2 separate regions of the Homo sapiens genome follow, and region 2 is linked to region 1. The links are contacts of gene promoters, found by promoter capture Hi-C in blood cells and fetal thymus (Javierre and others, 2016). All regions are on one chromosome and are shown on one strand. Each heading gives the region's core, a stretch centred on a gene start or on the middle of the fragment in contact. The rest is flanking DNA. Distances are from core to core; before and after follow the strand shown.

Region 1 (4,317 bases), core at 1,818-4,317:
CATGACAGTGTCAGGGTTCCTGACACCCTTACCTTCCTGAGAAATACCCCCTGGGAGCGCGGAAAGCAGAGCGGACAGGTCAGTGACTTCTATTTTTGACTCGTGTTTTTTTTTCCATTGAGATGTACTCTCTGAAGTTTGGTCTTGATTTGTTTTATGAGAAGTGAGGTCTGTGAGTGGGGAGGGGGAGATTTATTCTCATTTTCAGGACGAGACTTTTGCCCTACATCTTTCCTAGAATAAGAGGTGAGAATCTCATGATTTGTCTCTAGATGTGGGAGGATTGTGTGTAACCATCCTTTTTCTTGCTTCCTCTGTCCAGTTAAACTCCTATACACAAGTCTACACCCCAGGATACTCCCAGCCTCCAGCTGGGAACTCTTTTAACCTGCAGCTGTCTGTCTGGGACTGGGATTTACGTTATAGCAATGCACAGATACTACAATTCCAGAATCCTGGCTATGACCCAGAACACTGTCCAGATTCCTGGCTCCCTAGACCACAGGTGAAGTGTCTAAACTTCCTAAATTCCCTTGACGTTCCCACAGGCTCATGCTACTAGACAGTGAGAAGTGAAAGACAAAATGTCTTGAGTTCCTTAGGGAAAGCTACTCCACTACTCTTCTGCAGCTGTCACTTATAGTCCCTGGGTGTCCCTAGGAAGACAGAAGACCTAGAATAGCACAGAGGGCACCCTTTTTGTCCTTCCTCAAGTCTGTTTACTCATCTTCCTGTCTCGTGCACACATAAGGTGCCCTAAAATCAACCTTAATCAGTCCCGAGGCCTAGTTGAAGCCTAATGAGGAGGGTAGAAGAGTTCTCATGGGGAGGCTTGTAGTTCTAGTCACCAGTGCAGTGAGTGGGTGGCAGCAGGACACCCTGTCCTGATCCAGATTGGGGAAACTAGGGTTATCTGGTCTCTCTGTTGCCAGTTGATTTTCTTTTCCTTTTAGCCAAGCTTCATGGTTCCTGGACCCCCCAGTTCTGTGTGGCTCTTCTCTAGAGGAGCATTGACCCCCCTGAATCAGCTCTGTCCTTGGCGGGACAGTCCTTCCCTGCTGGCAGTCTCTTCTCGTTGGCTCCCTCGACCTGCTATCTCCTCTGAAAGCCTGGCTGACCAGGAATGGGGTCTCCCCTCACATTGGGGAGCTTGCCCTTTACCTCCAGGGCTGCTGCTGCCTGGGTATCTGGGACCCCAGATCAGGCTCTGGAGACGCTGCTACCTGAGGGGAAGGCCTGAGGTCCAGGTAAGAAGGGAAAATAGACTGGGAGTGGGACAAGGGACTTGACTCTGCTGAACCAGATGAACAGGAGCTGGAAAGGCAAGGAGCTGAAGCCTCTGGGAGTCTGGGAAGTGAAGTTCTACTCCTCTTGGCATCAAACAAGGTTTGGGAGTGTAGGAGGTGCGGGAAAGTGCTTGTGGCTTAGATTAAGTGGAATTTAGGGCATAGCTGAAAGGGGAAACAGAATTAAAGACACCAGAAGTAGCAGAGAAGCAGGGGGCCAGAGCTACAACAGTATTCTTCTCTGTTCCTCTTTGCCTCCTCCCCAGATGGGCCTCTCAGCTCCCACAATCTCTGGCCTCCAGGATGAGCTATCCCATCTTCAGGAGTTATTACGGAAATGGACACCAAGAATATCTCCTGAGGATCACTCCAAGAAAAGAGATCCACATACCATTCTCAATCCCACTGAAATTGCTGGCATTCTCAAAGGCAGGGCAGAGGGGGATCTGGGGTAGAGGAGGGTTCTGTCTAATCTTTTTTTTTTTTTTTTGTATCTGCACTTGCAGCCTCAGCTTTCACACTTCAGCCCTTAAGTTCACTAAGAAGGTCTGAGTTTCTGCTGCAGATAGTGGTGTTAACTGCTCCAACTCTTGTCTTGCTTAGTTTCTACAAATATTTTTGCTTCTTGTCATTTGAAGGATTAAGAAACAAAAACAATCCAGAAATTGATCGGTTTTTTTAGGCCAATCCCATCCCTTCTGGATAACCAGATGTTAAATCATGAGATCAGAGATGCTGTTCATCAGTCCCAACAAGATGGCCTAGAAATCGCATTCTCACCTCGCCTTGCTGCTGCTTTAATTCCAAGTTCTATTTCTTCCCTTATAGTTTTCTATGGGAATGAGGCGGATACAGGAAACACCCTATCTCCTCTGTATTTTTGTAGTGGAATTTCTATTTAAGGGGCTCATTAAAGCATAGTATTTATACACATTGCTGGCATTGTTTCTTGTGTTTGAATAAAGGATTCTCCTAGGTAGGAAAGTGGTGGGTAAAAGGGGTGTATGACCCAAGAGAGGAAGGCATCCACCATATTATTGCTAAGGAAATAGGGGAACTGGGTTTGGTGAGGCTCTGCAAAATTCAAGTGCAATTTGGGGAAAGGGTTCTCTTGTGTGTGTCTCCCATTTAGAGGCAGATGGGGCCAGAGTGTTCTAGAGATCCAGACTCTAGAGCTCCGATCCCATCCACCCCTCAGCTGTGGTCACACACCAACGCGGAGCAGCCCTCACCCTCCCCATGCAATTAGGACGAGGTGAGCGCAGACGTCACTCTAAGCTCAGACATTTCGCAGTCTCCTCCCCTGAGGGAAAACCAAATACCTCCAGCCCAAATCAGGGTTGTGAGGCCAAATCTGCAAGAAGGCTGCAGGCGAGAGGGAAGGCTCCCTCTGCGCCTGAAAGCCCCCAAGTCCTCGGGTTGGGGGGAACTCTTCAGCACATCCTTCTCTGGACAACAGAAGAAGAATCACTGTCCACAAAATATATTAAAACTGAAATTTTTGTTCTTTTAGCTTTCGAATTTACACTTTTGAGAGCAGTGTGATTCTTTCAAGTCTAGCAGTGCATTAAGAGGGCCTGAGCGTTTCCGTTCCGCCCTCCTCGCTAAGACAACTAGCAGCGGCACCTCAGGACGCGAGCCGAGGACTCTACCGCCCGACCCAGGTTAAGTTTCGGAGGCTCCTAAGATGGCTGCAGCCGCTTCCAGGCACCTCCTCTTCCGCGGCCCCGCCCACCGCTACGTCCGTCTTCGCCCCGGAAGTGGAAGTCGTGCTGAGGTCAGAAGGCGGAACCGCTGCTGGGAGACGGCGGGATCTCTTTCGCCATGGCTGCCGGGCCGATCTCCGAGCGGAATCAGGGTAACTGGAGGGGGAAAGTCTGGAATGGGCTCAGCGTGGCTAGGAGGCCCCGACTACAGCCAGCAGTGTCTCTGCAGGGGTGGGAGACTGGACTCCTCCCTTCCCCAGAGGGCGCGAGACCGGCCCTCTGCCTGTTGGGGGCGGGGTGGCCGGGTGCTGGCTGAGGCCTCTGGGTGTGATACTTAAGTCCGGTCCCCTGCTGACTTCTCACTCAAAAAATCAAAAAAACCCACTCACAATACTAAATTAGACTTCAGAGGATTCCCGAAGTCCTGGGAAGAGAGAAGTTTAAGGGTTTAAACTTTTTTTTTTGCTCCTGTCCCCTACCGCGGTCCCCAGTTCCCCTGGTTGGGTTCCATCTTCATGTTTCCATCACTTCCTTCCTTCCCGTTACACTCTCACGCTTGCTCTTTTTGCTCCCTCCCTTCAAGATGCCACTGTGTACGTGGGGGGCCTGGATGAGAAGGTTAGTGAACCGCTGCTGTGGGAACTGTTTCTCCAGGCTGGACCAGTAGTCAACACCCACATGCCAAAGGATAGAGTCACTGGCCAGCACCAAGGTGAGTACATGACAAGGGGCGAATTGCTCCCGGAGGGTCCCAGCAGTATTCACAACTGTTTTGGAATAACATGAGCAACCTAAAGATTTTTTTCTTTTAAGCCTCTCTTCAGTTTATTTCTGGAACCATTCTTAAGTAAAGTGATGTTGTTTCTTTCTTGTTCTTTGTGATTAGAGGGTAGATGAATTTTACCCCATTTTCAGTCTCTTTACTTACGTTGTTAACCTCCTCTTCTCCACTTTTCCAGGCTATGGCTTTGTGGAATTCTTGAGTGAGGAAGATGCTGACTATGCCATTAAGATCATGAACATGATCAAACTCTATGGGAAGCCAATACGGGTGAACAAAGCATCAGCTCACAACAAAAACCTGGATGTAGGGGCCAACATTTTCATTGGGAACCTGGACCCTGAGATTGATGAGAAGTTGCTTTATGATACTTTCAGCGCCTTTGGGGTCATCTTACAAACCCCCAAAATTATGCGGGACCCTGACACAGGCAACTCCAAAGGTTATGCCTTTATTAATTTTGCTTCATTTGATGCTTCGGATGCAGCAATTGAAGCCATGAATGGGCAGTACCTCTGTAACCGTCCTATCACCGTATCTTATG
Region 2 (4,049 bases), core at 270-2,769, 33 kb before region 1:
AAAGTCAGCCTTTCCATCTGAAAGTCCCCAACATGCATAGAGAATAGTGGCTAGTAATGGAGCAATAGTTTTAGTCCTTTTGCTCAGCACAGTGAAAGTTCATACTGAAAATGTGGCTTTCATAATTGTCTTAGCTTAGACCATTCATAGCATTATTACCCACCTTGGGAGTGGGAATGGTAGGAGGAGGATAATGAACTGGGGAAGCTTCCTTTAGCTCCCCAGTACCAAAACCACACTAAATAAGTTTTGATTTCCTGGGCTTCCTTGTTTTATGTTGAAATTGGTGGTGAGGCTCAGTAATAGTTTCTTAAATGTTAAGGCTAGAAGTTGTACACCACCTAGTGGCTGTGTACATTAAAACAGGAAGCAGAAACCGGCCAGGAAGAGGGAGCCGGATCTGGATGTGTCTATTGGAGTGACTGCAGCACTCCATATAGAACCTGGGCATTGCTCTCTTTATTTTTAATTGAAGTAAAATTTGTGATAGCATTTTACAAATTGAAAATAGCTGTGTCATTTAAAAAATTCCCATTAAATTTGTTCCCAGTACCCCTCATGTTTCCAGTGATTTCCTTCTACTCTGTCAGTGTGCGGTTAAGCCGTATAGACTCATTTTAATACTAATGTCAGCCAAATAAAATTAATAAGTTAAACTTATTTCCCTTATCATTATATACATCCTAAAGCCAATGTATTTTAAAATTGCTTGTACCATTGCCTGCTCTCCTTTGATAAAAATTGTAGTTTCACTTAGCATATGTTTATTGATTATAGTCACAAAATAGACCTTGGGTGTATTGCATAAAACATGATCCTAGCATAGAGGAGGAGATGGACATGTAAATACATAATTGCAACAGGTTATAACATGTATGACTCTTACAATAGACGTCTCTATAGCAGTTAATGCTGGCCGGATGCGGTGGCTCATGCCTGTAATCCCAGCACTTTGGAAGGCCAAGGCAGGCGGATCACCTGTTGGTAGTTCGAGACCAGCCTGGCCAACATGGTGAAACCCCGTCTTTACTAAAAATACAAAACTAGCCAGGCATGGTGGTGTGCACGTGTAGTCCCAGCTACTCCGGAGGCTGAGGCAGGAGAATTGCTTGAACCTGGGAGGTGGAGGTTGCAGTGAGCCAAGATCATGCCACCACACTCCATCCTGGGTGACAGAGCAAGACTTTGTCTCAAACAAACAAACAAAAAAACAACAACAACTCTATAGCAGTTAGGGAGAGAGGATACAAAGGAAGGAGTGGTTGATCTGCCAAGGGAGATTTAGAAGACTATTTGGAGGAATGATACCTGAGTTCTGTCCTAAAAGTTGAGAAATTGTTCACAAGGTTGACAGAAAGTGAGCTACTCCAGGCAGAAGGAACAGCTTAGACAAAAGCTCAGTGGTATAAAACAACATGGTATATTTCAGGAACTACAGCTGATTCAGTGAGATATATCTGACTAGAGAAGTGGGTAGGGGCCAGAAAGTAGGCTTTGTATGCAGCACTTCTACTTGGGAGGCTGAGGCAGGAGAATTGCTTGAACCCGGGAGGTGGAGGTTGCAGTGAGCTGAGATCGTTCCACTGTACTCCAGCCTGGGCGACAGAGTGAGACTCTGTCTCAAAAAAAAAAAAAAAAAAAAAGAAGGTATCCAGGTGTGGGGTGGGTGAAAGAAAGAAAGGAATATTAGATAATTCCTTGGTTTTGAGCTTGGATGTTTGGGTGATAGTTGGTGCTATTCACTAAGGTAGGAAAATAGGAAGAAGAGTGGGTTTGGGAAAAAACAGGAGTTCTATTTTGACTTTACAGAGTTTGAGGTAGCCATGGGCAGGTGGCAGTCTCCAGTAGGTAGCTGGATATATGAATATAGAAATTAAGAAGTCTAGGCTGAGTGCAGTGCCTCATGCCTGTAATCCCAGCATTTTGGGTGGCTGAGACAGGCAGATCACCAGGTCAGGAGTTCGAGACCAGCCTGGCCAACATGGGGAAAGCCCGTCTCTACTAAAAATACAAAAATTAGCTGGGCCTGGTGGTGGGTGCTGTAATCCCAGCTACTCGAGAGGCTGAGGCAGGAGAAGCATTTGAACCCGGGAGGTGAAGTTTGCAGTGAGCCGAGATTGTGCCATTGCACTCCAGCCTGGGTGACTCTGTCTACAAAAAAAAAAAAAAGAAAAAAAGGAAAGAAAAGAAAAAGAAAAGAAATTAAGAAATCTGGGCTGGAGATAGATGGTATATACCATACAGATGGTAGTGGATGAGATTATGGCAGTAGAAGAGATCACCCAGAGGGAACCAAGGTGAAAATCATTGACACACCACTAGTATTTTGGGGGCAGACAGAATTTAGAGGAATAGAAAGTAATTTTATGGACGCTAATGGCAAAGAAAATTTAAAGAGGAAAATAACCCATGTGAAGGCTAAGATGGGAACCAGGGTCCACTGAATGTGGCAATTAGAAGGTCATTGTTCTTTGCCAAAATCAGGTAGGTGAAATGTTATGTGGCAGGTGGGTGAGCAGGATGGAGGGCAGAAATGGGACAGATTGCAGTAGGTCAAAAAGAATGGATGATAAAGAAGTTTAATAGTCATAGACTATTAGTTCATGGATCTTGACTGTAAAAGAGATAAGAGATTTGACTTTGTAGTACAATTTGTAAACCAAGTGCTAAGGGATTAGGGAGTAAGTAACAGTGAATAAGGTGGAATAGGTATTGCCTCTTAGAACCCAGCCTCTAATTGCCCAATGTCCCCTGCCTGTCCTTCACACAGTCAGGGCTGGTATACACAGAAGATGAATGGCAGAAGGAGTGGAATGAACTGATCAAGCTTGCCTCAAGTGAACCCCGAATGCATCTAGGTACCAATGGAGCCAACTGTGGTGGGTAAGTATGGCTAAGTAGGGGAGGAGGAAACCTGCATAGAGTCCTCACTGGGCTTCCACAGCCCAGTGTCTAGAGAGCTCTGTGCTAAGAGGATATTAGAAGGAAAGAGGGGAACTATGCTAAGGGCACAAAAGTGTGTAACAACATGATATGTTTAGGAACTACAGGTAGTTCGGTATTGAACTGGAATATAAAGTAGCCCATCTAGACTTTGGAAACTTCAGGACAAATGACCCAGTATCTTCAGTAAGTAAACTGCAAGGAAAATAAAAAGGGACCAGGAACTTGTAGGTTTAAATGGACTAAAAAGACATATCAGGCCGGGTGTGGTGTCTCACACCTGTAATCTCAGCACTTTGAAAGGCTGAGGCAGGAGGATCGTGTGAGCCCAGGAGTTCGAAACCAGCCTGGGTAACATAGTGAGACCCCCTTTCTTTTTCTTTCTTTTTTTTCTTTTTTTTTTGAGACAGAGTCTTACTTTGTTGCCCAGGCTGGAGTGCAGTGGTGTGATCTCTGCTCACTGCAACCTCTGCCTTCAGGGTTCAAGTGATTCTCTGTTTCAGCCTCCCAAGTAGCTGGGACTACAGATGCATGCCACCACGCCCAGCTAATTTTTGTATTTTTATTAGAGACGGGGTTTCACCATTTTGGCCAGGGTGATCTCAAACTCCTGGCCTCAAGTGATCCACCCACCTTGGCCTCCCAAAGTGCTGGGATTACAAGCATGAGCCACCATGCCTGGCCAGTGAGACCACATCTTAAAAAAAAAAAATTAGCCAGGCATGGTGGTGCATGCCTATAGTCCCAGCTACTTGGGAGGCTGAGGTGGGAGGATTGCCTGAGCTGGGGAGGTCGAGGCTGCAGTGAGTTGTGACAGCACCCCTGCACTCCAGCCTGGGTGACAAAGAGAGACCTCTGTCTCTAAAAGAAAAAAAAGACATCAACCAGTTGGGATGTGTGGACATCATAAGACAATTAAGGAAATGTGAACAATGTCTCTGTGTTTGATTATTGTTAAAATTATAAAATGTGATATTAATGGTATAGTGGTTGTTTAAAAAGGTAGTCCTGGCCAGGCGCAGTGGCTCACGCCTGTAATCCCAGAACTTTGGGAGGCCGAGGTGGGCGGGAATTCGAGACCAGCCTGGCCAATGTGGTGAAACCCT

Evidence for each region. The method cuts DNA at HindIII sites, captures the fragments that hold promoters and counts their contacts. A CHiCAGO score of 5 or more calls a contact.
Region 2: a fragment that was not itself captured here is called in contact with the fragment with the promoter of SF3B4 in region 1 in 1 of 17 cell types (M2 macrophages); the score reaches 5.6 in M2 macrophages.

Annotation. Positions count from the first base shown.
Region 1 is chr1:149,926,553-149,930,869 of GRCh38, reverse strand. SF3B4 (splicing factor 3b subunit 4) reads left to right here and starts at 3,067. Exons shown (of 6, transcript NM_005850.5): 1 at 3,067-3,144; 2 at 3,576-3,704; 3 at 3,952-4,317. The coding sequence starts at 3,111. MTMR11 (myotubularin related protein 11) reads left to right here. Exons shown (of 17, transcript NM_001145862.2): 14 at 1-78; 15 at 323-505; 16 at 954-1,247; 17 at 1,553-2,219. The coding sequence ends at 1,741. RefSeq lists enhancers at 1,687-1,756, 2,891-3,270. The HindIII fragment of the contact is 3,542 bases long and covers 961-4,317 here.
Region 2 is chr1:149,958,518-149,962,566 of GRCh38, reverse strand. OTUD7B (OTU deubiquitinase 7B) reads left to right here. Exons shown (of 12, transcript NM_020205.4): 7 at 2,771-2,883. Among named protein-coding and RNA genes, the nearest start is that of MTMR11, 24 kb to the right of the region's middle. The HindIII fragment of the contact is 2,620 bases long and covers 210-2,829 here.